4 separate regions of the Homo sapiens genome follow, and all the other regions are linked to region 2. Evidence: promoter capture Hi-C in 16 types of primary human blood cells and fetal thymus (Javierre and others, 2016). All regions are on one chromosome and are shown on one strand. The core of a region is centred on a gene start or on the middle of the fragment in contact, and the rest is flanking DNA. Distances in the headings are between cores, read along the strand shown.

Evidence for each region. Contacts are between HindIII fragments. The CHiCAGO score rates a contact against its expected background, and 5 or more counts as called.
Region 1: a fragment that was not itself captured here is called in contact with the fragment with the promoter of PFN2 in region 2 in 2 of 17 cell types (erythroblasts and megakaryocytes); the score reaches 6.2 in erythroblasts.
Region 3: a contact is called between a fragment that was not itself captured here and the fragment with the promoter of PFN2 in region 2, in 2 of 17 cell types (endothelial precursors and megakaryocytes). The highest score is 5.6, in endothelial precursors.
Region 4: a fragment that was not itself captured here is called in contact with the fragment with the promoter of PFN2 in region 2 in 1 of 17 cell types (megakaryocytes); the score reaches 5.2 in megakaryocytes.

Annotation. Positions count from the first base shown.
Region 1 is chr3:150,248,389-150,255,193 of GRCh38, reverse strand. No RefSeq gene overlaps it. Among named protein-coding and RNA genes, the nearest start is that of LINC01213, 13 kb to the right of the region's middle. The HindIII fragment of the contact is 773 bases long and covers 3,322-4,094 here.
Region 2 is chr3:149,968,069-149,974,946 of GRCh38, reverse strand. It overlaps PFN2 (profilin 2), which reads left to right and starts at 4,052. Exons shown (of 3, transcript NM_053024.4): 1 at 4,052-4,222; 2 at 6,397-6,589. The coding sequence starts at 4,091. It overlaps LOC646903 (a long non-coding RNA gene), which reads right to left and starts at 3,668. Exons shown (of 1, transcript NR_036538.1): 1 at 1,705-3,668. RefSeq lists enhancers at 2,789-3,319, 3,320-3,851 and silencers at 3,697-3,756, 3,987-4,066, 4,277-4,516, 4,527-4,576, 4,597-4,856. The HindIII fragment of the contact is 10,546 bases long and covers 1-6,878 here.
Region 3 is chr3:150,414,607-150,421,862 of GRCh38, reverse strand. All of the region lies in intron 1 of TSC22D2 (TSC22 domain family member 2), which reads right to left. Among named protein-coding and RNA genes, the nearest start is that of TSC22D2, 9.9 kb to the right of the region's middle. The HindIII fragment of the contact is 474 bases long and covers 2,286-2,759 here.
Region 4 is chr3:150,473,334-150,480,845 of GRCh38, reverse strand. No RefSeq gene overlaps it. Among named protein-coding and RNA genes, the nearest start is that of TSC22D2, 69 kb to the right of the region's middle. The HindIII fragment of the contact is 1,221 bases long and covers 4,386-5,606 here.

The DNA.
Region 1 (6,805 bases), core at 2,459-4,958, 280 kb before region 2:
AACATTGGAACCAACACTGAAATTGACACTGGCTGGCCTGGGCATTCAGACGTGACTGGGGAAGTCGTGTGACAAACAGAAGATCCAGAGAAACTTTAAGTTCTGCTTTAGAACCAACAGAAGAATTCAGGTTCTGTTGCTTTAAGGAAAAGAACACGTTTGTTTTACAAAGAGGATGAGGGAAAAATGGAAAAGAGAGACTGGCAGGGACAAAAAAGGGGATTGAAACTTTATTTTAGACAACAGGTAAGCCTATCTGTCTGTTCTGGATGCTAAAGAACTCTTCTGGAAGGATACACTCATCATCAAAATACAATGGAAGTTACAAAGTTTTAAAGTCAAATATTGTGAGAACTTGAAACGGGAGATGGTCTTTTCCAATTTTTTTTTTTTTTTTTAGTTATGAAAATCTAAGGCTCAGGAATGTCAAGGGGCCTTTTCACAGTCACACAGCTGCTTAGTGACAAAGCTGTAGCTAGAACCCTGAGCTTCTGACTCTCAGACATGGGTTGTTAAATCACAGCGTGGTATAATGGTGCTACGTGTGGCACGTGATCAGAGAGCACAGGTCTGCAACTTCATCAAGTAAGGTATTTTTAACATGGTGACTTCAACACTTTGACTAAGCTCTTCCACTGTAGCCAACCCTACTGCACTGTTCCAACAGCTTCCCAGAATGGTAGTAATTAGAGCAAAGAAAAAAAATAGGACCCAGAGAAAATGTAACATTTCTTAGTAGTGGGAGGAGGTGGAAATAAATGCATTTACATAACTTTCTACTTTCAGAACACTTCATGTGACTACGGGTTATTAACCTAGGGTCCATGAAGAGAACTCAGGCATTCCAGGACAGGAAAAAAAAATTACATCTTTTACTGAACTCTCACTGAAATGCATCATTACCTTCATTATGAATGTAGGCAACAAACCACAACAGTGTTTGCAGTCTTTGGACTTTGTCACTAATAGAAATAAACATTTTCACATTGTATTAGCTGTTGCAGGTATCTTGAAATATCTTTACCTTTTTTATCACTTTGCTGTGATGGTAGTTTTTAGATCTGCTGCTAGATTTTGTTAAATAGTGCTTAATAAGCACCTATATTACTATACCACAGATTTTTATAAATGTTTTGATAATCATATTTCAATATAATTGGATTATTTTATAATTCTATGTATGTATTTATTTTAAGCTGTTAAAGGCATTATTCTAAGAAGGGATCTGTAGACCTCACCTGTCAGAGGGGTCCTTGGCATGAAAGTTAGGAACTCTGACATGTGAGGGGTCAACGAGTGTCAGGTTGCCAATGGATACCCATGTCACTAGGTCCCCTGTCCCTGCACCATCATCCTGTGGGCTCAGAATGAAGGGATGCTTGCTTGTCATTCTGGGTTGGAGAGCTGCCAATATCTCTTGCCACAGACTGTGTTTGTAATTCCAGGGTGTACCAGCCTTTGAAAACTGACATGATTATATTGCAAAACGTGACAGAAAAGAATCCATTGTTTGGCGTTATTATTAAAATTAAGACTGATATGGAGTTGGTAATATTTATATTAAGAGGGCTGTGTTCACACGTCCATGGAAGTTGACTTTTCTGCGGGAACTGGCACTTTAAAGTCCAGTCAAAAGGAAGTCAATGTTTTCAAAGATGACAAAAACTGATTTGGCATGGTCAGTACATGTTCAGACTATTATTAAGTAAGAAAAATAAAAATTTTAAATATTAAGACACCATTTCCACCTCTCAAATAGGCCAAGAGTTTTAAAGGTGGTAATTCTCAGGATCGATAGGGTGTAGTAAAATAGATATTTTCCTAAACTACTCACAAGACCAAGGCTTGACATAACTTTTCTAGATGGCAGATTGGGCTTTATGTTTTAAGTGAGTGCTTTTCACCCAGTAATTTCACTTCTAGGAATTTATTCTGCAGGCAGAATTACAAAGATATTCTTCAAAATATTATTCATAACAGTAAAAAAATTGGAAACAGCGTGAATGCCAACAACAAGAGCTTGGTCAAATTATGCTACATCTGTAGGATGAACTATTACGTAGCTAATTTAAAAAATAGCCATTCTGACAATATGTAATGATATAAGGAAATGTGTAAAAATAATGTAGACTTAAAATACAACACATAAAACTGCAAGTATAAAATAATTCTGTTTTTTAGTTTTAAAATATCCTTCGTATTTCTTTGCAATCTTACTTATGTACATATACCTATAGAATATGTGTGTGTAAAAAACTAGAAGGAAATATATCACAGTGTTAGGGTAGTGGCATTTAATTATTGGGTAGAGGCATTTTAATTATTTTTATTTACTTCTTTATGTTTTTGGAACTCCTGACATTAGGAGAAGCAGTAAGACACTGTTTTTAAGAAGATGAGCTGGTGCCACATGGGCTGATGTGTTTGCTGTGCCTTCTTGTTGCTCCAGACAAAAGTTTGTTTTGCTGGTTGCTACTGAGTGTTATTTTTCTTGTAACCTTTGCTCTCTTTCCCCACCATTGGCTTCCAGATGTCTGATTTCACCAAGTTCAGGGCACTGGACGCATGTGCATTTTCCCCTCTAACTTGAACAGGAAATTCAGAAACTGCCTTAAGCCTGCCAGCCTGATAGAGCCAGCACCAACATGAATATCAACCCAAAACCTCTTGGCCTAATGAAAAATAGCTCGATGGGGGAATGTGAAGCTTTTGTAAAAACTGGTGACTGAGTTTGAGATAGGGAAAGAATTTTAGGAGGCATCTGCCCCTCTTTCCTCTTGGTCAATGATGGCTTCTGCCTAGTTGTGCTTTCTGCATGTTGTGGGTGAAAAATGGAGATAAAAAGTAATTATTCTACAGCAACTTAACCTTTTGCTGATATTTGGTAGAAAGTGATAAACTTTCAACTTTCTGTCATTATTTAGCATGTAGTGTATAAATTAGCTGGAAAAAATTCTGTTTGAATAGATGAAGACATATTTTCTACGGATTTTACCTTGAAAGTGAGAAATACAAAGGTAATTTTCTGTTTGTGAATGTTTGTTTTAGGGTTCTATTATTTGCAGTGCCATTTAGAATTTTGGAAACATTAGAGTCTATATTCCATTCCTCCTGTCTTTCTTAAACTTGGATCAATTTTCTCCGGGTGAAGTTTAAAATAATAAAAACTGGGAAACCATTTACTCAATGCCTCCTGTTGCATAGCAATCTAAACAAACAGGCCCCTTTCCTCTGTTAAGAACTTCCAATAAGACAAATCACAAAGCTTGTGTTTAAAAAAATGATTTCCAAGTTCCCCACCCCCAACCCCATTTGAAAGCTTCCTTTAAAAAAAATAGAGGCAAAAGATTGTAGACAAGAAACTTAATTGACTTTTTAGTGAGTCACTTCTCATGCTACTACAGGGATTAGAAAACTCTTTTGTTTGCGGTGAGGCCAGAGGATCTGAACTGGACACATAAATACCAAGCCAACCAAAGCAGGACAAATAATAAGAAATAATAGTAACCATCAGGTGGTCAGTATCTTCTGTGTAGCAGACACAGTGCCATGTAAGTTATCTAATCTTATAACAAACTTCCTGTGTTGGATATCTTACATTTGCACCCCCAGGTCCTCTCTCTACTCTTTTCCATCCTGTTCTCTGCCCAGGGAGGATGACCTATTTAGACAGCAGCAAAGGGCTTGCTTACCCAAGAGTACTGGCAGGAGAGAGGAAGGAGGAGGTAAGATCAGAGTATGTTCCTGGCCCCTTCTCTGCTGGTTCCTGCAGGTTGGCTGTGTCCCTCTACCCAGAGATACAGCTCCTGCCAGGCAGCCCTTTCCATTCCACTCCCCTCCCTGGCTTCCAAGAATGGCTCCTCGATGCTTCATTCAGGTCTAGTGGTGGGAAGAGCTCCCTGCGGTTGCCAGCTCCATATCGAAGTGAACTCTTAGGCAATGTCTTCTCATGCAATTTATTGGGAAATCAATCAGAGATTGACCTTTGCTAGACAACCTCTAGTGTCTTGTAAACATTATTTAAATTTTAAATTATTTGTCTTTTCAAAATCATGGGCTGTGGCACTAAGTAGTTTTGGCCTTGACTGTAAGCTTTGTCAACATTGAACACCTGGACAAAGTATTAACCTAGCAGAGCCTCAATTTACTAAAAATTAAAGAGTAACAGTAATATCTACCTTACATGGTATTGTGAGAATTCAGTGAACATATATAAAATTTTATTACAAGATACAGCACATAAATCTAATTTTATTCCTCTTTTTTCCCTCTTTCTTTCCTCCAACTAGGGGCCAAATTTAGCTAACATTTACTGAGTGATTATTATGTGTCATGTACTAGTTTAAGCATTTTATACATATTAATTGATTTACATCAATCCTATATACTATTATCCTCTCTTTTACAGATGGAGAAATCAAGGTGCAAAGAGGTTAAGAAATTTGTCCAAGGTTTGCCAGGACATAGATGGGAGTACTAATTCACAACTAGATGGTAAACTTTTCAAGGCAAAACCAACTGTATACCAAATTTCTTTCTTTCTTTCACAGGGCCTAGCATGATGTCTTCCATATGCAGGTGTTCAATAAGTGCTGATTTTATTCCAGGAGCAGAGGCAATTAAGCTAGGGTTGCAATAGTTAGGGAGCCAGGAGATCCACATGGTCAAAGTAGCAGCTGCTTTCACGAAGCAGTAATGCGTGCCGCTCGAATTTGGATGCAAGGTCCTGGTAACTGAGGAATGGGCTGTTGCTGGAAGATAGAGCAGAGAGCAGCCAGTTATCTTGCGGAGGGGTGAGGAAGGAAAGAGAACTTGAGCTGGGAAGCCAGCAACAGTGGAAAGCTCCCCAAGTGAAGCTTGAGCTCCTCTCTCAGCAATCCTCCTGGCCTTGAGGAGACAGTAAATCTCACTCCATCCTGTGGTTATACCACTGAAGCATCTTTAAAAACACTTAGTCCCAAACAATGGGCCCTTTCCTGCTGCTTTTCTTACCTGAGCCAGCAACCTCAGAGCTTTCTGGGATTTCTGTTAAAAACACCGAGATCCCAGGACTCCTTCTCTATCAACACAACTGTCGCTCACGCCAAGCATGGGACATATGGCCGAGCATCTGGGAGGGAGAAGATGGGCCAGGAGTGCTGGCAAGCGGCACATGCTTTCATTATAATGGATGTGTCACAGTAAATCATTTTGTAAATGTCCCCTCCCCCTGTGCTGCATAGCAAAACATAAAGGAAGACGAATTACCCACAGCACCACAATGCTGGTTGAATATGCCAAAACTTGTGCCTGAGACACTTAGTGACATTTCCTTAAATATCTTTTTAATATCTTGGCCAGGTTGGGCATACCAATGGCATTACAGAGCTTGCAAATCAATACCCCAGCTGTTTTGGTTTTTTAATAAAACTGAATGTGATCTATTTTAAATGATTGCCTTCCACCCCTCTAATTTTCTACAGGGCTTTCAGAGAGCAAGACTGTGGGCAGCCCTGAAGTCAGGACTTGGCTCTGAAAGGGTAGTTGTTCCTTTTGGGGGTGGGGTAGAAATTAAACATTTGCTGGATTACTGTCATCATTTTTTCCTAGTCCTCTAGTCTCCCAAATCTAGTGATCTACATGATTTACAGGACCAACTTGTGGTGTGCTGCTGTTTTTAAAAAATGAGTTTACCAAAATGTTGCAGAAGAATCTAAAGGGCTTAGCTTCTACAAATCAAATTGATTTCTCCATTTGGGATCAGTCCAAGTGATTTATTCATAATTTTATTAGAGATCTTTTCCAAAGGAAATTCTTTGTCTCTGATTATCACCATAAAGAAAATTGAAAGAGCTTCTACCAAGAATTCAGTCATATGCATGTGACTTTTGCCCCTCGGAAAAATGGAATATGTAAAACTGTCATCAACAGCAACCATCTTGGTTACTGGGCATCCACAGTCCTCAATAACAACAAGAATTCCTCACGCAAATAGGGAGGTGGTCCTGTCACATTTGGGGTCCCAGTAAGCAGAAAAGCCCAATCAAAGTACCTATAAATCAGAGTTTTATAAAGATATTAGTTGACTGCTACTTACGTGGGTCATAAATGTGACACCACAATAAACAATCAAGTTTCTTTGAGGATGTATTTGAGGACTTTTTTATTGGCTTTGAGAAATCACAGTACTTCCATCAGGAAAGTCTCATCTGCTTGTGCAGTTTATTGCTTTTATTTTCTGTAGTTTATACAAAGTGTCTAAGCTTTTTTCCTTCCAATATTTTTCCTGGGCTACATTAGTACAAGTCCGTGTTTTCCCTGGGCCAGCAGGACCACAAACCAGATTAAAACAAAAAGGGAGCTGGAGCCTCGGCTGGGCCCCTGGAGAGGCCTCCTCCCTCTGCCTTCCCCACCCCTGACCTCTCACAAACCAGCTTTGAAGCAACTGAAATTTCTTTCTTTCTTTCTCTCTCTCTTTTTTTTTTTTTCCTGACCACAGGCAAAATCCTGTCTCCTTGGTTCTCTGAAAGTTATCCATTCCTGAATTTTACCCTTAACCACAGCGGAGGAAAGGGAATAGCTGAGGTCAGGAAATATGGAAAGAATGTTAACAATTTACCACTAAAATATACATTAAGATTATTTTCAGCAAGTGTAATCCCCACGTTGAACTTCTAAATCTAGAATTCTCCTGTCATGTGACTATATTCACATTTATGTGTGCCCCTTTCAGCCTCAATTCATCCCTTCCTGAATGAGCTCTCTGTGAAAGGTAGGACTGAGTGAAAATAGGCAAGTGAAATCTTCAAGTTTCCCTCCCTAGTTA
Region 2 (6,878 bases), core at 2,803-5,302:
TGTCTAGGGGTAGTGTTTAAGATATTTAACTTAAAACTTTATTGTATTAAATATGCAAGGCAAAAATTTAAGGGTAACACTAAGAAAAATTGGTAGCATAAATTTGAAAAAAAAAAAAGAATAAAACACACATGCCCGACATTTTTTTTAAAGGCAAGGAAGAAAAAAGCATAGAAAAAAAAAGAGACTAATAAAATTAGTTCAAACAAGTCCAAATGTATGTCAATAATTACAATGAATGTAAATGGAATAAACTTGCCAATTAAAGGTTATACTGCCATATTGGATAAAAAAACAAAATCCAGCTGCGTGAAGTTTATGAGACACAAAATAAAAAGGACAGAGAAAGGTTGAAAGAGAGGTGGGGAGCGAAAAGATATATAAGGTAAACACCAATAAAAAGAGAGCTGGGATGTTACCTTAATATTTGACAAAAATTTTAAGACAAAAAGCAGTATTGGTGATCAAGAGGGCAACTACTAAATAATAAAGAATAAATTCATCAGAAAGGAAAAATATAACAATTTAAATTTCCATTTTCCTAATAGCCTCAAAATATAAAAAGCAAAAATTCATAGAATTTCAGGGTAAAATGGCCAAATGCAGAATTATAAGTTCTCCTTGTTCTTTACTGTAAAAATCATACATAGTGAATACATTCAAAAGATATTTGTATTAGCTTGTGGGATTAAGGATTTTTCTCCATTTTCTAAACTTTATTGCTGTGATATTGATTTTATAATTCATATACTTTTTTCAGAAATGAACTATGCGGTGAAATTTTTAAATAACTGATGGTTAATTATGGTTTTACTAAATTTGGGGGTAATTACTGTGTATAGTTTTAGATCCTGCTCCCAATGATTATCAGGTTGTGTACATTTTAAAGATAATTTCTTGTTTGTGTTTTGCTAAAATTTCAAATGATTTTTACATGGACTCAAGTGGTTCAGACACCACTTGACTTACACATTAAAGAACGTGGCTTACTACACAGTTTCTGCTTTACTCAATAAGAATAAAATAATTCTGGAAAGAATGCATAATAATGCACTCCAAACTTAAATATGCTACTGATTGTTAATGGCTACATTATTCTGGCTATTTGTATCAACAACACAGCCACAACTTTTCTAAACTTCTGCCCAGATATTACAATTATCCTAGGGATTACTTACTCTCAGAAAAGTAGAGGAAGATACAAATTGGCAATTCTTTTTCTCACACTGATACTCCTTTGGACTTAAGTGAACCAATATTGTTATTACTAAAGCTCAGTATTCCACCTCTATTTATACTTTCTGAAACGTATAAGCAACACTTAGATGAAATAGGAAGGGATCACTGTACACAAATGGAAAATAAAGCAGCATGCAAGGAAGCTGGTTCTAAAGAAAACAAGCACAGGTGGCCGGGCATGGTGGCTCATGCCTGTAATCCCAGCACTTTGGGAGGCCGAGGCAGGCGAATAACGAGGTCAGGAGTTTGAGACCAGCCTGGCCAACATGGTGAAACCCCGTCTCTACAAAAAATACAAAAAATTAGCTGGGCGTAGTGGCGGGTGTCTGTAATCCCAGCTACTTTTGGGAGGCTGAGGCAGGAGAATCGCTTGAACCCAGGAAGCGGAGGTTGCAGTGAGCCGAGATCATGCCACTGCACTCCAGCCCTGGTGACGGAGTCTCATCTCAATAAACAAACAAACAAAAAAGCACAGGTTACTTTATTACAGTACTGAAAACCAAGACAGCACATGGACTCTCTTTGAATATATAACCTAAAAATTGAAACTGTAAAATTTAATCTATTATACAGAATTTTTTTCATAGTTGTTTAAATTTTACTGTTTGCAATTCTAGAAAAATAACATCATGTTGGAAAAGTAAGCAGTAATTTAAAATGAATTATATTTTGAAAAATATAGAAGAATGACAAGAATTCTAAATTTTTGTGAATATTTTACCCAAGAAATGTGTTTTAGAATCTTTTGAGATTTGAATTAGAAAATATTGTTGGTCAAATTCTTTCACTGTTTAAAGCCAACAATAAAAGAATAGGAAAAGAATGTAGTTATTTCCAACTCTGTGCTATAACAATAAGATAGTAACGTCTAGAAATTATATCTTAAAACCTTCAGAGTAAATTAATAAAAATTCAACATACTTCAAGTTATCACTGTATTTTTTCTATAATTACCTTTTCGTTTACTGTTTCAATTTATTGAATTATACATACAATGAAGAGCACAATAAATGTACATACAGCTTGATGAATTCTCACATAGTGAGCCTGTGTTACAAGTAATCTATTATTAACTTTTAAGATGATACAGTGCTATGATCGAAGGACTAAAATGATCAACATCACCATAAAAGGCAGAGTCATAAACAAGAACAATTAAGTGTAATTAAATCAGGTGGGAGGCACACTTACAAAAATGAAACAATTTTTGGTTCACATTTTACACCACACAGGTATTCTGTATCTTTAGAACATGAGAAAATACATATTCTCAGTCTGATAGGTCTCTGACTTGGGGGTTTCTTTTACTGTACTTTTTTTCTCTCTAGTAGCTGAACATTTTAAAGCAATCAGCAGAAAAAATATAAAACTTCAGAACCAATTAGACTTTTAAAAGCAACGTTCTTGCCCTTTCCAGAGATACATTCCTTAATCCTCCTACAAATCATGACCTCACACGATAACTTTAAGGGTGAACATCAACTTATCTACATTTTGGTGCTTTCTTTCCCTTAAGTGGCAGATGGTTTCTATTAACCTAAAATTGAAGTCATTGTTGGGGGACCCCTAATTCCATGTCTAGTCCTAGTGCCCAGAGGCTACCAAAGACGATACGAATAGCTTCTCAGGCACTCTACCCACCGTTTACCTTGTTAATACAAATCTTTCCCAGACCTGGGTCCCGAAATTATTTTACCCTGCAGAGCAGAAATGTTACGGTGTTCATTCAGTGAACTCTTCCCTAGTTTTTAATCTTTGTATTTTCTGCGTATACTTCAAGCCACCAGTAACTTTCCCAGTTACCAAGAAACAGTGTAACACAGGTCGCTATTTGTTTTGTTCGGAATTTACGAGCAATTTAACCACACGTGATTAGCAACATTAAGGGGGCTCCTCCAGGCAAAGAATCCACAGAATGAGAGGCCCTTGGTACCCAAATGAAGCAACAATGAAAGATCGGCGAAGCTCAGCAAGGTTCCTGAGCGCCACGGACGCCTGCTCTGATTTCAGGTTGCCGGCGCGCGCCCGCGGGTCTGCCTTTATGGACGAGGCGCAAGAGGGATCCAGGAAAGACGGTGCCCTTAGAGACTCGGAGATTAGCGTGGGCAACCCTGCCACCAGCTGCCCCTGCCACCAGCCGCCCCCACAACAAAAAGGAGGAAACGCTCCGCATCCCGTCACCAGGACAACTCTGTAACCCGACACCGAGGCTCAAGATTCCGCATCCCGGGCAGCGAACACAGGAGAAAAGCACATCGCGGCCCGGCCGCGGGGCTCCAAGGCGTCCGTGCCGCCGCTGTTCCTGGGGTGCCGAGAGCGACGCGGGGTCCACCCTCTCCGCCGGCCCGAGGTCCGAAGCTCGGCCCGCCACCGCTCCCGGCCGGCGCCTCCCGCACGTGGCGGCCGTGATTGTCCCGGGGCGGTATCCCTCCGCGCCCCCGCCTCAGTCTCCCCCCGCCCTTCCCGGGACCCTCCGTGCCCGGGCGCCGCGGAAGGATCGCACGCACGCGCGCGCGCACGCCCAGCCGTGTCCGCGGAAAACGGAGGGCGCTGCGGTAAGGAGCAGCCGCCACAGGCACAGCCGCTTCGCAGCCTCCCGCCGCTGGTTTGTCAGCCCCGCGGCTGCGGGCGGCCGGGCGGCCGAGCGCGCTCTGAGGTTCGTCCCTCATCGCTGAACCCGCGTCCTCCCGCCGCAGCTCCTCGGGGAGGGGGGCGGTCGGTGCCTGCGCAGAGCCGCCTCCTCCCCGCCCCCGCCCCGCCTCCCCCCGCGCCGCCGCCGCCCGCTACCGCCGCCGCCGCCGCTGCGCCTGCTGCTCCTCGCCGTCCGCGCTGCAGTGCGAAGGGCTCGAAGATGGCCGGTTGGCAGAGCTACGTGGATAACCTGATGTGCGATGGCTGCTGCCAGGAGGCCGCCATTGTCGGCTACTGCGACGCCAAATACGTCTGGGCAGCCACGGCCGGGGGCGTCTTTCAGAGCATTACGGTGAGGACCAGTGGCGGCCGGTACCCTGGTCCCTGCACCGGAGCGGGGTGGCCGGCCGCGGGGGCACCGCAGCGCGGGGCTGGAACACTGAGGGCCGAGCCCGCAGGTGTGCTAGGCAGCGGGCGCCGAGGATGCGGCTGCCGGGCGGGCGGGGAGGCCGAGGCCCGGGGACGCCCCCTCACCCGGGGCTGCGCTGACAGGCTGGGGGCGGCGGCCGGACTCCTTGCTGGCCCTGGCCGGGCGCCCCCGGCGTTCCCAGCGTCGGTCCAGGTGCCCGGGTTGGGGGAGGGGGCACGCACCGGCCAGGGCAAGGGGAGGGGTTCCTTTTTTCCTCCTAGTGCGGTTCCCCTAGGTTCTCTTGAAGCCCTGAGGTTTGCTATGCACGTTCTGGGGTGGAAGCGGGGGTCGGGGATCCGGGCTGGGGCGCGCGGGCCCCGGGTGGAGGTCCCTAGGCTCTCTGGCCGGCTCTTGCTCCGCGGACAGCGCGCCTCCCGCGCCTCCGGCTGTGGGAGGCGGCGGCCCCGGCCCGGCCCCCGGGATTCTCGAAGCGACTTTGCGTAGGTTTACCGATGTCCAGGCCTCTGGGGCTTGCGAGAGATGTACGCCGACCGCGTAGGTGGATTCGTGAATCTCGACTTCAGCTCTAGCTCTATAGGTTGTTTTTTTTTTTTTTTTAAATTCTCCAAGATGGCGAACTGCCATTGATTTCTCTTCTCATATGGAGATTCATCGATATACGGTTATCCCCAGTTATGCAACATAGCTCAAAAAAGGGGTGCTTTTCGGGGGCTTTCAATTATCTGCGAAGACCAGGAGCACACTTCACTTCTCTAAGTCCCTCCCTCTTTAGTGGTGGCAGTAAAGGAACTAATGCAGTTTTATGCTTCACATTGCCTGATTTTCTTGAGACTTGATGGTTTTGAGTTGGTTGCAATATGTTTGGAGAATATTTGCCACAAAACCTCCAGCTTATTGTTTTGCCTGTTTCTGCCCAAGGCTGTTTCTAAAATTATGATAATTGTACTAAATACGAGACCATTCTCTTTATTTCTTAGCACCACGCTCCCTTTCCATTAAGCACCAAAATTCAGGTCCCCTATTAAGGGTGCTAATTATTCTTTTACCACTTAACATGGTTTAAAGTCTAACTTTAGAACTCAGTCCTTGATAGTAGTACTTTAAGGTCTCGTATACCCGCAGTGGACTACAATTCTTGTAGGGAATTGGCATCTGGTCATCAACTTTTTTCCTGCAGTCCTCTTGTCTTTGTGTGTGAGTTCCCGCTGTCTGACTAGGAAGATTGCGGGAGTGTGCTTGGAAATGGCTGGGGCCTGCTATGACTCTGCAGTTCTGATGGGGGCGACGCCTTCCTTCTTATTCATGGAATGTTAGAATGCACGTTTTCTCCTTTCCGGTTCTGGTGGCTACCTCAGTTTCTTTCCCAATCTCCCTCCATTTTTTCTGTTTTACTATTGCCTACCGCAGTGCTGTAGACAGAATCCACTTTGCGTTTGCCCAGAAAGAAAACTGATTACTGAGATGGGAGGGGAAGGGAAGTTGGAAAGAAACGGGAGTCGTGGCTAGAAAAATAGGAGGGAAATATGAATTTGGAAAAGCACTGATGTCCAGGGGTTGAAGTCCATCTCATCACGTATATTTCTAGTTACTCTAAGCAGAGAAGTGAACACATCAAAGAACAGGCTTTATTTTGGGAGACTTTGAAGCAACTTTAAATTTGATGAAACATGATTTACTGTAATGGGACTGAATATGATAGACCAGCTTTGTTCAGAGTTGATAGCTGAATTTTTACCATTACGTGAACACTTTCAGGCACCAGCTGACTTAATACAGTTTATAAATAACTCTTTAAGTTTGCACTTTGTCTAGTGTCAACTGTCAACTCTTTACAGTTTCTTTGTATAGACTGGTCTTGGTTAAGAGACGACATCATTAACTGAAGTCAAATCAACTCATGTAAAATATGTGATTATATAGGATTAAATAATTATTTAGAAAAGACTGAATCTTGGTTTTACATTAGTGAAATGTGGCTATCTGGCAGTGGTAGCATAAGCCTAGCTACAGCCCTTCCTGTTACATCAAGCCCTAAAAGGAGTTAACTACAACTTAATGTGTGTGTGTTTTTTTTTTTTCTTTTTGGTGGGGGGCAGCCAATAGAAATAGATATGATTGTAGGAAAAGACCGGGAAGGTTTCTTTACCAACGGTTTGACTCTTGGCGCGAAGAAATGCTCAGTGATCAGAGATAGTCTATACGTCGATGGTGACTGCACAATGGACATCCGGACAAAGAGTCAAGGTGGGGAGCCAACATACAATGTGGCTGTCGGCAGAGCTGGTAGAGGTGAGTAAGGCATTCTTTTGGTTAAAGTTGCATGCCACATTACAACTTATTAAGCAGTTTCTTTTAACATTTTGAATAAAAGTTAGTCCATAATGGCTATTAAGGTGGTTTTTGTGAACTGCCCAGCACTATGGAGAAGCACTGCTTTAGTTTTACCTACTCTACAGCATCTATGACCTGGCCTCTTAGATCCTGATTTTGTTTCTACGATAGAATATTCGTATGAACTCACTTTCAGCTTTATTAAACTTAAAAGTCTCTTAAACTGCTTGACATGTCAAATCATAAT
Region 3 (7,256 bases), core at 1,273-3,772, 450 kb before region 2:
TTACTACCTAGCTTTGCAGGCTAAAGAACTGAGACTAAATGTAAAGTTCCTGGCATACAGTGAATCATCAATAGCATTATTTTAATCTACAAAATGAGGTTTAGATACAACATGGCAATTCTGGGGTCCTATTAAGAGCCTTAAAGTCTGTGCAGAATTATTAGTACAATAAAAAAAAAAGACTTCCAAGATGCCAGAGAATCACCAAAGTAACTGTTTGATTAATTAGGAGACTAATACGTGTATTTCTCATTGCTTGCCCTACTTCAACTCCTTTCTATTCTTTTAATCCTTTTTCCACTTTTCTCCTAACTAGGTCTAAGGCAATCAAAGGCACTGATTAGACCTGCTAATAACAAGAAAAGCTTAAGAGGCTTCTACCTACTGTTTATTTAACGGCTTACATCCTCTTAAGATGTATTTGTCAGGCCACTTTTTTCGCTGTACTTAGAAGTCAGTCTGCCAAATCAAATGAAAACTAACTGAACCAATTGAACATTCAATCTGGTTTTTTTTTTGGTTGTTGTTTTTGTTTTATAAAAAAACAGGCTTGCCCAGGAACATATGGGAACTAGTTTGCTATCCTCAAAGGTCTGTTTGGAGACCTCCAGTTTAAATGGAGTGACTCAAAGAGGAAGGTAGTATATACAAAAGAATAAGAAAGAGTATCTTGGAAGTTATTCTGCAAGTCTACAATTCAAAATTCATTAAAGAGTACTCACAATATATTTATAAGGATGATATTCTTTAAAAGAACTTTATTATTTATTTATTTTTTGGAGACAGAGTTTCACTCTTGTCGCTCAGGCTGGAGTGCAATGGCACAATCGCGGCTCACTGCAACCTCTGCCTCCTGGGTTCAAATGATCCTCCCGCCTCAGCCTCCCGAGTAGCGGGGATTACAGGCTCCCACCACCACGCGCAGCTAATTTTTGGTATTTTTAGTAGAGATGGGGTTTCACCACGTTGGCCAGGCTGGCCTCAAACTCCTGACCTCAGGTGATCTGCCCGCCTCGGCCTCCCAAAGTGCTGGGATTACAGGCATGAGCCACCACACCTGGCATCTTTAAAAGACCTTTAGATCCTCTGACTTTGGAAATACAAATATTTAATTTGAATCAAATTCATATTCCAGGTAAATTGGTTCCAAATGAAGTCATATGACTTGTTATAAAATTCCAGCAGTTTTACAGAATAGTGCAATATCTCTTAAGTCAAATGTAAAGGTGAAAAACGAACATATTTGTAGTTAGTAGTAAATACTGGGATGTGGAAAGAACCTGTGAAATAAAATACTGTATAAATGGACCTAAAGTTTTCAGCACATATTAGAATACACTTAATTTGCAAAAGCTAACAATTAACAATCACTCTTTCTACATACATTCAAAGTGAAGAAGCCACAGTACATGGTTTTCTATAGTACACAGTTACACAATCTATGTACTACATAAAACTTTAAACAGTCTAGATTTTAAGGGTAAAAATTTAGATAGTCTTATAAGCTATGAAATTTTGTTTCTGGGATACTATAACTGGGATGTTATCCATAAACTGAGGGGTTTGTAGCAAACAGCAACAATAATTAGTCTCCAAACACTGACTAACAGATTAAAGGAGTCAAGTCTGTGAAATCACTGATCAAGGAAGTAGAAGGGAAAAGAGCCATCTGTAAAGATTGAAAGGCTTGATCATCAGAGAGACTTCTATTTTGGAATGGCATAAAATTGAGGAGATTAAGAGCCCAAGGAAAAGGCTGTTAATGGGATCATTTCAAGGTTACAGTCCATGAAACCTGAAAGCATGAAGAGGCAACTGAAATTAAAAATTTTATTAGAAGGAAATACTGACTTTTTATGCAGCTGTGGTCACAAATTCTCTTCCACTCAAGAAATAAAATTTGAAACCAGCTTTTTAACAGTTTATTTGATATTAATATAAACTACCATTCTAAATATAGAGCCAACGAAGCAATTCTAGGAAGACTGAGATGTGGTTTACACTGTACTTCAGCCACCTAAACAAAAATGCTGTTTTCCTATTTGTAAATATTCTTTAACATCACTGAACAAAATACATTCTTTTCTCTCTGACTTTATATACTCAATAGTCCATCACATTAATTTCCAAGTATGTGAAAATACTACATCAGAAAATGACTCAAAGCATGTGGCATGTCTACCTGTTTTTGCAAGACACTATCTTTGTAGGGTAACTAAGTACAACAGGGAGAAAAAAACAAACATTCCATACCTCAAAACTAAGCTACAAAAATTGTCAAAGCTTAAAGCATAAGGTACTTGAGCACTCAACAAACACCTCTTTCTCTTAATCTATGCCAAAATTCGACTTCAGAGATCTCTAAATAGAAACCAGGGACATACAATATGAAGAACATCAACAAGCACCATCTCCAGTATTATTATCTGGGGAATTTAAATGATTAAAAAAATCCTTTAGGTAAAGGGTTACAATACAACAAATCAGTGGCTATGGTAGTTCTTCCTTCTTCCTAACTTATTGTGTGCCAAGTAATAAAACAAACTTCTAACTCTGGGAATATTCAAAAGCACTGGCTTTAGGTTAAAGGTCTGAATATGAGTCTAGGCTTTGTCACCCAATACCTAGGTGACTCAAATTTTAAGAGTCTCAGTTTCCTTAATCCATAAGAAAGGGGGAAGGGAAGAAACCACTTTCTTACAAATTGTTGGAAAGATCAAATGAAAGTCTATATACATAGGACCTGACACAAGTAAGCTTGCTTTGTGTTTAATATAAGGTTAGTTTCCAAATTATGCTACCTATAAATCAAATTTTGGTAGAGTATCTCAACATGTACCAAATGTTCTGACATTATCAAGGTAATATTGAGGGAAACAGAATACTTAAACTTAGAGCCAGGGGTACCAAAATATTTAGCACATTTCATTAGGTAAGAATTCTGATTTTTGGGACTCAGCGCTCTGAAGGTATTCCCTTAACACAGCTTTATCATAAGATTATAATTTAAAATGCAATAATCACTAAAAGGATACTGAAATCGTTTCAAGATATATATTATTTTAACAATAAAAGCTTCCAGAAATACCTTTAACAGCAACTTACTATAAAAATCGAAATTTCTTACCATGACATTTAAAGTCCTTCACTCTGGTTCTTGTCAAATTAACAATACCATTTTCCAAATGATAGATTCTCACTCTTTCACATCATTATACAAACTGCCTTTTACCTCTGCTTGGAAAACTATCCCCTTCTCTTCTTAGTGACTTAATCTGAATGACCATTTTAAGATTTAGTTCAAGAGTTAGCCTCAAAAGAATGTACAAGTAATAATGGGTTACTTCTAAGGACAAACAGGGTGGCTGGAGGACAGAGGTAGCAGAGAGGCTTTCGATTTTACTCTTTTATATATTTTGAGTTTTGAACTATATAAATACCTATGCAGAGAATAATTTTTAAATAGAAGTCAGTCTACTACCCTCCCAATCCCAATCTGATCTGATGTCTCAAATTGTTCCCATTAGCACCTTATATTACTCCATCACCACCTCCAATGTATGTCAAAGTATACATCTGATCATCATTTTCATGATGATGAAAATGCCTGAGATCTAGGAGGGCAGCATAGTCTCATATTTGTATTCCAGTGCTCACTACTCACAGAGCATCATGAAAGCTGAATGACTGATAAGCTGTTTTAAATGTTTTCTTGGGCAATCAACCTACTTAATGAGTATTTACAAACTTCATTTATTGCCACACAATAGTCAAGTGGCAGGAAAGGGGTAAAAAGAAGAAAGTTTAAGTTTGCAGTTCTCTCATGAAGCACACTTGAATGTATGGTCTCATATACATAAGGCTAGAAGGAATCTTAAAATTTGACAAAGTCTCAAAAAAGAAAAACAGACAAGTGAAATGACTTGACCAAAGAAACCAGCTAAATGATAGAAGAGCCAGGACTGGAACACAATTCCCTATACTTCTTACAACATCATGACTCGTCTAGACTAAAACATCATCTCCTTTTTTCTGACTACATCCATACCATACAATTACGCTTTCATATTAAAATGGAAGATTCTTGGTATGATTTATAACATGTAAAGGGGTGATCTGGGAGAGCAGTTTGGACACTGAAATATTAACATTTCTGTGATACACGTTTGCCACATATATTATGTTACAGACTGTTCAAATTACTTGCACACATCATTTAATTCCTTAAAACTCTCCCAGGTAGGTACAATCCCCATTTTTCATAAGAGGAAACAAGGCATCTACACCAACTAGCTCAAAGTCAAATGTAGCAGTTAGATTTTAGCCCGGGTATGTCTGACTCTACTGTCTCTGTAATGGTCATTCACATATGTTAACACATAATTAAACACGCTATTGGTTTTATTTGATCAAAACAGCTCCTCCCTCCTTTGTTTTGTCTTCAAAGACTAGGTAGACGGTATGCCAAGCAAAGATTTGTTTTGCTTTAACATATAAAACCACTTGATAAAAACTAAATACTAACTCTACTTTAGAAACTAGAGGCTTTACACTTACCTTTGGGAATCCTTTATTCAGATTAAATTATATACTTGTGTAATAAGATGAACAGCCTAAAACTAACATTTAAAACTATGCCATCATTATTTACAATAATTGACACATTAATCACAAACTCCATCTTCTACAAAGCAATATTCTTTAGACAAATTTTAGGAAAGGCTTATGGGAAAAGAAGCTTTAAGTAATTTAACATTTAGACTTTACTTATTTGTCCTGCCTACCCTAATAATAGGTATATGTCCCAGGCAAACACTAATAAAATTAACTCAGTTACCTGCAGAACTTTCACTAACATCACAAATAAATGTACTACTTAAAAGGATGGAAGCACTTTTTCTTTTTAAACAAAAATTAGCTTGGGTACAAAGGAATCAAACTAAATACTAAATACTAATTATTTAAGTCTGATTTGAGGCTTTAAATTTGAGATAAGCAATCCAGATGAAATTTAATTCACCTGATTTAAGAGCAGAAATCATGCAATACTTTCATACAGGAAACAATCCATCAATATACCTTTAATATTATTAAACCAAATCTGAAGAGTATACCTCAAAGTATACTTCCTAAAGTCATGGAATAATGTATAGGAATGGTGCAAACTGGCTACTGTTCCTACCTTTTTATGAGGGACACCCAGTTTTTGCCCTAAGCAATGCCAGATTAAGAATATAACAAATATCGAGTAATTTGATATGTTCAAGAATTGCTGTGGGAAAGACATTATACCAATGATTCAGGTATACATATTCTCTGTGGACTCAATACAATACCATCGAAAACAGTAGCCTCAAATCACAAGCCCACTGGTTTAGTATAAAGAAAAACCATACACTTAAATAATTTATTCTAATTTAGGAGTTTTGCTACACATACTCCTTAAATATGATTAATATTTCTTACCAAAAATCTGCTTTTCCAATTTAAGGAATTACTTACGGAATATCATTCAGGCTATGTTTAACCAGACAGACCTGCTTTTGTAAGGCCTCTCCTTCCTCATACTTTAAGTATTTAACGAGTAATGCAATTAAGAAATAAACAGAATCTTCAGAAAAGGAAATACACACTGGACTAAAACAATTCTTCAAAGAAAGAATTAGAACACCATTCCTCAGTATTCACAAGTGTTCCTATTTCTTTTGAGACTATATTTCATGCCACTCCACTGTACTTTCTTCCATTTTGATTATCTGCTATCATTCTACACTTCCCCTTCCCCAACTCCTGCCATTTTAGGAAAGGAAGGTCAGATTCCTTTTATACTTTCCTAACTACCATTCCTTTATTAGGAAACAGATTTATTTGGGTTTCTCTACTACTTGATTGGTGGGGCTGCTATTTGTTCATAACTGCTTCTGATCTTTTCTGGTGCAGAGAAAGATAGACTCCCATTCCTAATTAGGAAGTACCAGATTCATAGATCCAGTACCATATTTCACTATTTCCAAATTAGTGCTATCAGAATTATTTTTTTTCTTTTTACAGACAGGTCCTTGCTGTGTGGCCCAGGCTTCAGTGCAATATTATAATATAGCTCACTGTAGCCTCCAGCTCCTGGGCTCAAGCAATCCTCCTCCTACAGCCTCCCCAAGTAGCTAAGACTATAGGTGTTGGCCTCCAGACCTGGCTAATTTTTAAATGTTTTGTAGAGACAAAGCCTCGCTATGTTGCCCAGGCTGGTCTCCAACTCCTGGCATCAAGCAATCCTCTGACCTTGGTCTCTCAAAGTGCCAGGATTACAAGGCATGAGCTACCGCTCCTGGCCCAGGATTCTTAAATAACAAATGAATTGGCATTATATTTATTCTCAGGAAGTAGAGGACATATATACCCCTACCACCAGTCCTATATAAAATGACTTCTCATAAAGGTGATTTAGTTCAGGGGTTGTGATCTCCTAAAAAGAAAAAACAAGTGTTACTAAAATAGTCAGCTGGAAATCTGTATTATTCACACACATATAAGCCATCATGTTTTCTAAAAAAATTTACCAATGTTTGGCCTATATGATTTAGTGCACATAAAATTTTATACAGTATGTGTCACTGTGAATATAAAAGGCCACACTCCTACAGATATAGCTCATGGTTTAGGAATTTCGGGTAGTTTGGAAAATCGTAAGCCTTTTTGGAAATCTGTCATTTCTTTTATTTCAAGCCACGTTTATGAATAAAGTATGTTTTAGTAATCCATGTGGTATCCATCAGTAATCCCTGATGAATACATCAGTATCAGTTTTTATGCTAAACAATAATGACACATATATACGAATTTACATTTTTACTACTAACTCCTCAGTAAGAACACTCTTAAACGTGTAGATAGGCATAGGATAGTATCTAGTATGTGATTCAGACATCAACTGTAAACCTACAAGAGCAAAATTACCTTCACAATTTAACAGATAAATGTCAGCTTCCAAGAAACAGAGATTCAAGTAAGAAATTTCCATCTTTAGAGACTTCAATTCAGTGAGACTTTCATACAACAGAGGTCGAAGACTGAGACAGTTCTGCCTCCTGGTATACATTTACTTAATCCTCTCACTTAAACTTCAAGTAAAAAAAGCAGCAGAATTTGGTTTAAAATATATATAAATGTACAAACAAAATGTGTATTTATGGCACATACCAGGACACACCACTTAACATTCACAATGTATAATATTTTATCAGTGATCATTAGCAAAC
Region 4 (7,512 bases), core at 3,747-6,246, 500 kb before region 2:
ATAGATTTAACTTGTGGGTCCAGCTTCTGATATCAGAGTCACACTCTTGAATCTGGGTTATTTAGCCTAGGACTCAGGCCCAAGGGAGGATATTCCGTTACGAGATATCTATGACTAATTCAATTAATACTGGGGGACACGGTGGAAATATATTACTTTCAACAGGCTTTATAGCTTTGTTTTGTAGTCTACGGAAGCATTTTTCTATATATTACCTCATTTAGCCCTTAAAAACACCCTATGAAGTAGGTATTGCTATTTTACAGATGAAGAAACTGAGGCTCAGAGTGGTAAAGTGACTTGTGCAAGGTCCCTAGAATTCAAATTTGTATTTGTTTGATGTCAAAGCCTGTACTTTATTCACTATGGTGGGATTCCCTATGCTTCAGTCACTTGGCCACCATTAAGATTTTTGCTTTATGTACCACTGCTTTATTTCTTAAGATATATTTTTAAATTGACCCATTTGGGGGGCATTATAAGCATATTTTATTTTATTATTTTTTATTTATTTATTTATTTTTGAGACGAAGTCCCACTCTGTTGCCCAGGCTAGAGTGCAGTGGTGTGAACCCTGCTCACTGCAACCTCCATCTCCTGGGCTCAAGTGATTCTCTTGCCTCAGCCTCCTGAGTAGCTGAGACTACAGGCACATGCCACCACACCCAGCTAATTTTTGTATTTTTAGTAGAGACGGGGTTTCACCATGTTGGCCAGGCTGGTCTTGAACTCCTGACCTCAGGTGATCTGCCTGCCTTGCTCCCAAAGCGCTGGGATTATAGGTGTGAGCCACCATGCCCAGCCGTAAGCATAGTTTAAAAGGAAATTTTACATTAGTGGTCTTTGAAGTGGGGTACAAAGACTTTTAAAAAGGAAATCAGGCAAGAATAGTTTTAAGGCAATCAATTTTCATATCTTCAACTTCCATAGGTACTCTTTCCTAACACAGTTCTACTGAGAATGCACCCTCTCTTCCTTCCTCTCCTCATACAGTTCTTACTGTGTGGCCTTTCCCTGGAGCCTAAAAAGCTCTGGGGTTCAAACAAATGGACAATTTGGAATATCACCTTAGGTTTTATTGACTAGGTAACAAGTCCTTTTGCAAAGCAGAAATTTCTCAATTTTTGATTTCAGCAAAATTGAAGAAAGACCTAATTGAGTTTTTAGCTTGTTGATCATGAAAAATAATATCTGAAGAGCAATCACCATGTAAATTTTGGCATAGAACTAAATTCAAAGACTGATGTTGATGTAACAACACTCCCATCCTTATCTACTTAAGTCAACAAGGTTTTTCAGAGCCAACATCTATAAAAGTGAAAAATAGAAATAGAATTGATGCTTGAAACAAAACTAACTCAGATTTAAAAAAAGAAATAAAATTGATGTTAAATATGTCTTGTTCAACCATCAAGTAATTTTTTTTTTTTTTTTTTTTTTTGAGATGGAGTCTAGCTCTTTCTCCCAGGTTGGAGTGCAGTGGCATGATCTCAGCTCACCCTCTGCCTCCGGTGTTTAAGTGATTCTTGTGCCTCAGCCTCCAGAATAGCTGGGATTACAGGCATGTGCCATCACGCATGGCTAATTTTTGTATTTTTAGTAGAGAAGGTGTTTTTCCATGTTGCCCAGCTGGTCTCAAACTCTTGGCCTCAAGCCATCCACCTGCCTTAGCCTCCCAAAGTGTTGGGATTACAGGTGCAAGCCACTGTGCCCAGCAGCAAGTAATATTCATCCATGGATACATGAATTAACTTTAAAAATTACCAGCCATAGGCCAGGCATGGAGGCTCATGCCTATAATCCTAGCACTTTGGAAGACCAAGGCGGGTGGATTGCCTGAGCTCAGGAGTTTGAGACCAGCCTGGGCAACACGGTGAAACCCCATCTCTACTAAAATACAAAAAATTAGCCGGGCATGGTGGCATGTGCCTGTAGTCCCCAGCTACTTGGGAGGCTGAGGCAGGAGAATTGCTTGAACCCAGGAGGCAGAGGTTGCAGTGAGTGAGATCGTGCCACTGTACTCTAGTCTGGGCAACAGAGCAAGACTCGGTCTCAAAAAAAAAAAAACAAAAAAAACCAGTTTTTATAATAATCTAAATACTATATTCTTTGCATCTATTAGCATTTGTATTAAAAGTTTTAGCCAACCTAAAAACATGTAAAAAAAAAAAACATGTAAAAGTATACATAGGGCTGGGTGTGGTGGCTCATGCCTGTAATCCCAGCACTTTGGGAGGTGAAGGCTTGAGCTCAGGAATTCAAGACCAGACTGGCCAACATGGTGAAATCCTGTGTCTACCAAAAATACAAAAACATTAGCCAGGTGTAGTGGCATGCACTTGTAGTCCGTTACTGGGGAGGCTAAGGTGGGAGAATTACTTGAACTCAGGAAGTGGAGGTTGCAGTGAGCTAATAAGTGTGCCACTGCACTCCAGCCTGGGCCGACAGAGCGAGACTCCATTTCAAAGAAAAAAAGAAGAAATTCTGTTAAGCAAGAATTCTATATTCAGCAAAATTATTCTTCAAAAATAAAGGAGAAATAAATTCTCAGGCAAATGCATTGCCAGTATACTTGCTTTAAAGAAATGATAAAGAAGATGCTTCAGGCTGAAAATGAATGATACCACATAGTAACTCAGATTCATACATAGAAATGAAAAGCACATGAAAAAGCAAATAAATGGGTAAATAGAAAGGAATATTATATATACGTAAATATATAAGTATATATATAAATCTTTTAACATTTTTATAAAATGTAAGATTGCATAAAATGATAATTATAATCTTGTATTGAGTTTGAGTTTACAACCTTGAAATAATATATATGACAATAATAAAATAACAAAAAGGGGGGAATGCAGCTATATTGGAGCAAATTTTTATAATTTTACTAGAATTACATTCATATTAATTTGAAGTAGATTTTGTTAAATTAAGATGCATATTATAATCCCTAGAGCAAACACTAAAAAATTTACAAAACTCAAAACAATGTAATAATTTTTAAAAACTAACAAAGGAATAAAAGCAGCACACACAAAAATATCCATTTAACACAAAAGACAGTAAAGGAGAAACAAAGGAAGAAGAAACACATGGGACATAAATAAAATAGTAAAATGGAAGACAAATTGAACCATATCAATAACTACATTAAATATGAACAATCTAAATGCTATGCAAAAGTCAGAGATTGACTGACTAATAAAAGCAAGATCTAACTATATGCTACCTACAATAGACACATTAGATTTAAAGATAAAAATAGGTTGAAAGTAAAAGGATGGGGAAAAATGCCATAAAAACAGTACCATAGGAGAGTTGGAGTGGCTATATTAATAGACTTTAAGACAAGACATATTACTAGAGACAGATGGATGCTTTATAATGAATATGTAACAATTATAAATGTATATGTTCCTAACAACAGAGCCCCTAAATACATAAAGCAAAAGTTGATAGAATTAAAAAGAAAAACACTATTCAAAGAGACTTCAATACCCCATTTGATAGAAAATTAGTAACGATATAGAAGACTATCAACCAACCTGATACAACTGACATTTTTAGAACACCACACCTAATAACAGCAGAATACACATTCTTTTTAGTGTACATGGAACATTCTCCAGAATAGACTGGATGCTAGGCCATGATACAAGGCCCACATTTAACAGAATTGAAATCATACAAAGTATGTTCTCTGACCACAACAGGATTAAATTAGAAATGAGCAACAGAAGGAAATTTGGAAATCTCCAGATATTTGGAAATTAAATAACATGCTTTTAAATAACCCATAGTCAAAAAAGAAATCATGAGGGAAATTAGAAAATATTTTGAGTTGAGTTAAAACAAAAACACACACAAAATCAAAATTTGTGGCATGCAGTTAGTGCAGGGAGGGAAATTTATAACATTAAACACATTAAAAAAAGAGAAAAATCTTAATCTAAGCTTCCACCTCAAGAATCTAGAAAAAGGAGTAAAATAAACTCAAAACAAGCAAAAGGAAAGAAATAATAAAAAGTAGAAATCAATGAACTTGAGAAAATAAAAACCAATAAAAATCATGTTCTTGGAAAAAAGTCAACAAAATTGAGAAATCTTGAGCTAGACTAACCAAGAAGGAAGAGAGAAATAGAATATTTTCAAAATCAGAAATGAAACGGTTCATCACTACCAGTCCTATGGAAATTAAAGAGTTCACAGGACTGCTATGAACAAATTTACATTAACAAATTGGAAAACTTAAATGCAAAGATTCTTAGAAAGATACAAATTACCAAAACTGAACTAAGAATAATTAGAAAATCTGAATCTACCTATAACAAGTACAGAAATTCATTTAATAGATAAAATGCTTCCCATAAAGAAAAGCTTGGGTCCAGACAGCTCTGTATTCATTTCCTATTGCTGTATAACAAATTGCTGTAAATGTAGAGGCTGAAAATAACACCCTTTTATTAGCCCTCAGTTTTGTATTCCAGAAGTCTGACATGGTGAGACTAGAAATCAAGATGTCTGTCAGACTGAGTTCTCATCTGGAGGCTCTGGAGAAGAATCACTTCCAAGCTCACTTAGGTTGTTGGCATAATTCATTTCCTTGACCTTGTAGGAGTGAGATCCCCATTTTCTTGCTGGTAGTCCCTCAGGGGCTGCTTTTAGCTCTTAGAGGCTGCCTGCATTCCTTGTCATGTGGCCTGCTCCATCTTCAAGCCACAATAGCTCATTAAATATTTCTAGTGCTTCAGATTTCTAGCTTTCTCTTTTTCCATCAACCAAAAATCTTTCTGCTTTTAAAAGGTTCATGTGGCTAATCTCCCTTTCTTTAAGTCAACTGTTTCATATAACATAAGCTAATCATAAGAGTAAAACCCATCATATTTACAGTCCCAGGGCATTTTAGAATTCTGCCTGCTGCAGCTTCATTGGTCAATTCTATCAACTGTAGTTACAATAGCCAAAACAATTTTGAAAAAAAAGAATAAATTTGAGGATTTATACCATCTGATTTCAAAACTTGCTATATAGCTACAGAAATCAAGACACTGTTGTATTGGCATAAAGATAGGCATATAGCTTAACAGAATAGAATCGACAGAAATAGAGTTTATATTTACATTTGAAGGTTTTACATTTATAGTCAATTTTTGACAAAGGTACCAACATCGTTCAATAGAGAAAGGATAATCTTTTCAACAAATAATTCTGGATCAATTGGATATCCATAGCAAAAGGTAAATTCATACCGTTGTTTCATACTATATACAAAAATTAACTCAAGAGGGATAAGAGACTTACATGTAAAAAGTAAATATATAAAATTTCTAGATGAGAACATAGGAGAAAATCTTCATGATGTTGGGGTAGGCAAAGATTTCTTCTTAGACTCAATGTGAACCATAAAAGAAAACTTTGATAAATTGGATTTTGTCACATGAAAACTTTCTGCTCAAAATGAAAAGGCAAGTCACAGACTGGGGGAAGATATCTGCAGTACTTATATCTGATGAAAGATTGTGTATAGGATATACAAAGACATTCATCTTGGCTGTGATTGTGGTTACATGGCTGTATACTTTTTCAAAACTCAGCAAGCTTTATTTAAAATGTGCATTTTAGTGAATAAATTATACCTCAATAAAGCTGATTAAAATATATTAAAAGGATATCTTATTTGATTTATTTATTTTTTGAGATGAGTCTCGCTCTGTCGTCCAGGCTGGAGTGCAGTGGTGCAATCTTGGCTCACTGCAACCTCTGCCTCCCAGGTTCAAGCAATTCTCCTGCCTCCCAAATAGCTGGGATTACAGGTGTCCGCCACCACACGCAGCTAATTTTTGTATTTTTAGTAGAGACGAGGTTTCACCATGTTGGCCAGGCTAGTCTCAAACTCTTGACCTCAGGTGATCCGCCCACCTCGGCCTCCCAAAGTGCTGGGATTACAGGTGTGAGCCACCGCACTCAGCCTAAAAGGATATTTTAAATAATATTTACATGCTTTGATTAGTCTCCTTGGAGTACTGCAGCTTAACCATTTTTTGCTTTTTCACTCACTCAGCTTTTCCCCCTGGGGATAGGTAGTTTTTTAGCTAAGTGGAACAGAGCGACGCAAGGGGTTCAAATAAAAGATATATAGCCCTGTGGCATCTTATCAGAATATCAATATATTTGGAGGCTAGACTGGTGCAGTGGCTCATGCCCGTAATCCTAGCACTTCAGGAAATAGAGGTGGGCAGACTGCTTGAGCTCAGGAGTTCAAGACCAGTGTGGGCAACATGGCAAAACCCTGTCTTTACAAAAAATACAAAAATCAGCCAGGTGTGGTGGCATGAACCTGTAATCCCAGCTACTTGGGAAGCTGAGGTGGGAGGATCGCTTGAGCTTGGGAGGCAGAGGTTGCAGTGAGCTGAGATCCTGCCACTGTACTCCAGCCTGTGTAATAAGAGTGAGACCCTGTCTCAAAAAAAAAAAAAAAAAAAAAAAAAAGAAAAAGAAAAAAAAATACATGTATTTGGAGGCTAAAAGGAATCTGGGTTTTGGAGCTAGGGAACTGAGTTTCTACTCTGATTACATATCAAAAAATCCTAGCTTTACCCTTTGTGAGCCTCACGTCTCTGCTTGTCTACAGTGAAATGCCCTACCCATGGCTCAGCGATTTGTCTTATTCACATGATGTGAAGGTAAAGGGCTCAAGAAATGTTGGCCACTCTTATTCTAAAGAAATTCTCATGTAACTAGACAAAGATGTATAGAGAAACAATTTTGATTACAGAAAAAAACTGAGTGCCATCTAAACATCCATGAGTAGGGGACTGTCGTGATATGACTTATTATACAACACTATGCAGCTATTTAAAAGAATAAAGACAATCTCTATGTTCTGTCATGAAAAGATGTTTGTGATTACTGTAGATTTGTAGAAAGCAAGTTGAAGAAAAATATGTTTAGTATAATCTCATTTATGGTAAATGAAAACACAAAATGTGTGTATCTCAATTATGTGCAGAGAAAACTTAGCAGTTTTACTCTGCAGAGTGGGATTGCAGATGAATAGAGAGGGGAGATTTTGCCTTGTTTTTTTTGAAAATTAACTTCTTTATTGAAATATTTCAATGAGCATGTGCTACTTATTTTTTTTTTGAAGTTTTTTTAAATTATACTTTAAGTTCTAGGGTAGATGTGCACAACATGCAGGTTTGTTACATATGTATACATGTGCCATGCTGGTGTGCTGCACCCGTTAACTCGTCATTTACATTAGGTATATCTCCTAATGCCATCTCTCCTCCCTCCCCCGACCCCACGACAGGCCCCAGTGTGTGATGTTCCCCTGTGTCCAAGTGTTCTCATTGTTCAATTCCCACCTATGAGTGAGAACATGTGGTGTTTGGTTTTCTGTCCTTGCGATAGTTTGCTCAGAATGATGGTTTCCAGCTTCATCCACGTCCCTACAAAGGACATGAACTCATCCTTTTTCATGGCTGCATAGTATTCCATGGTGTG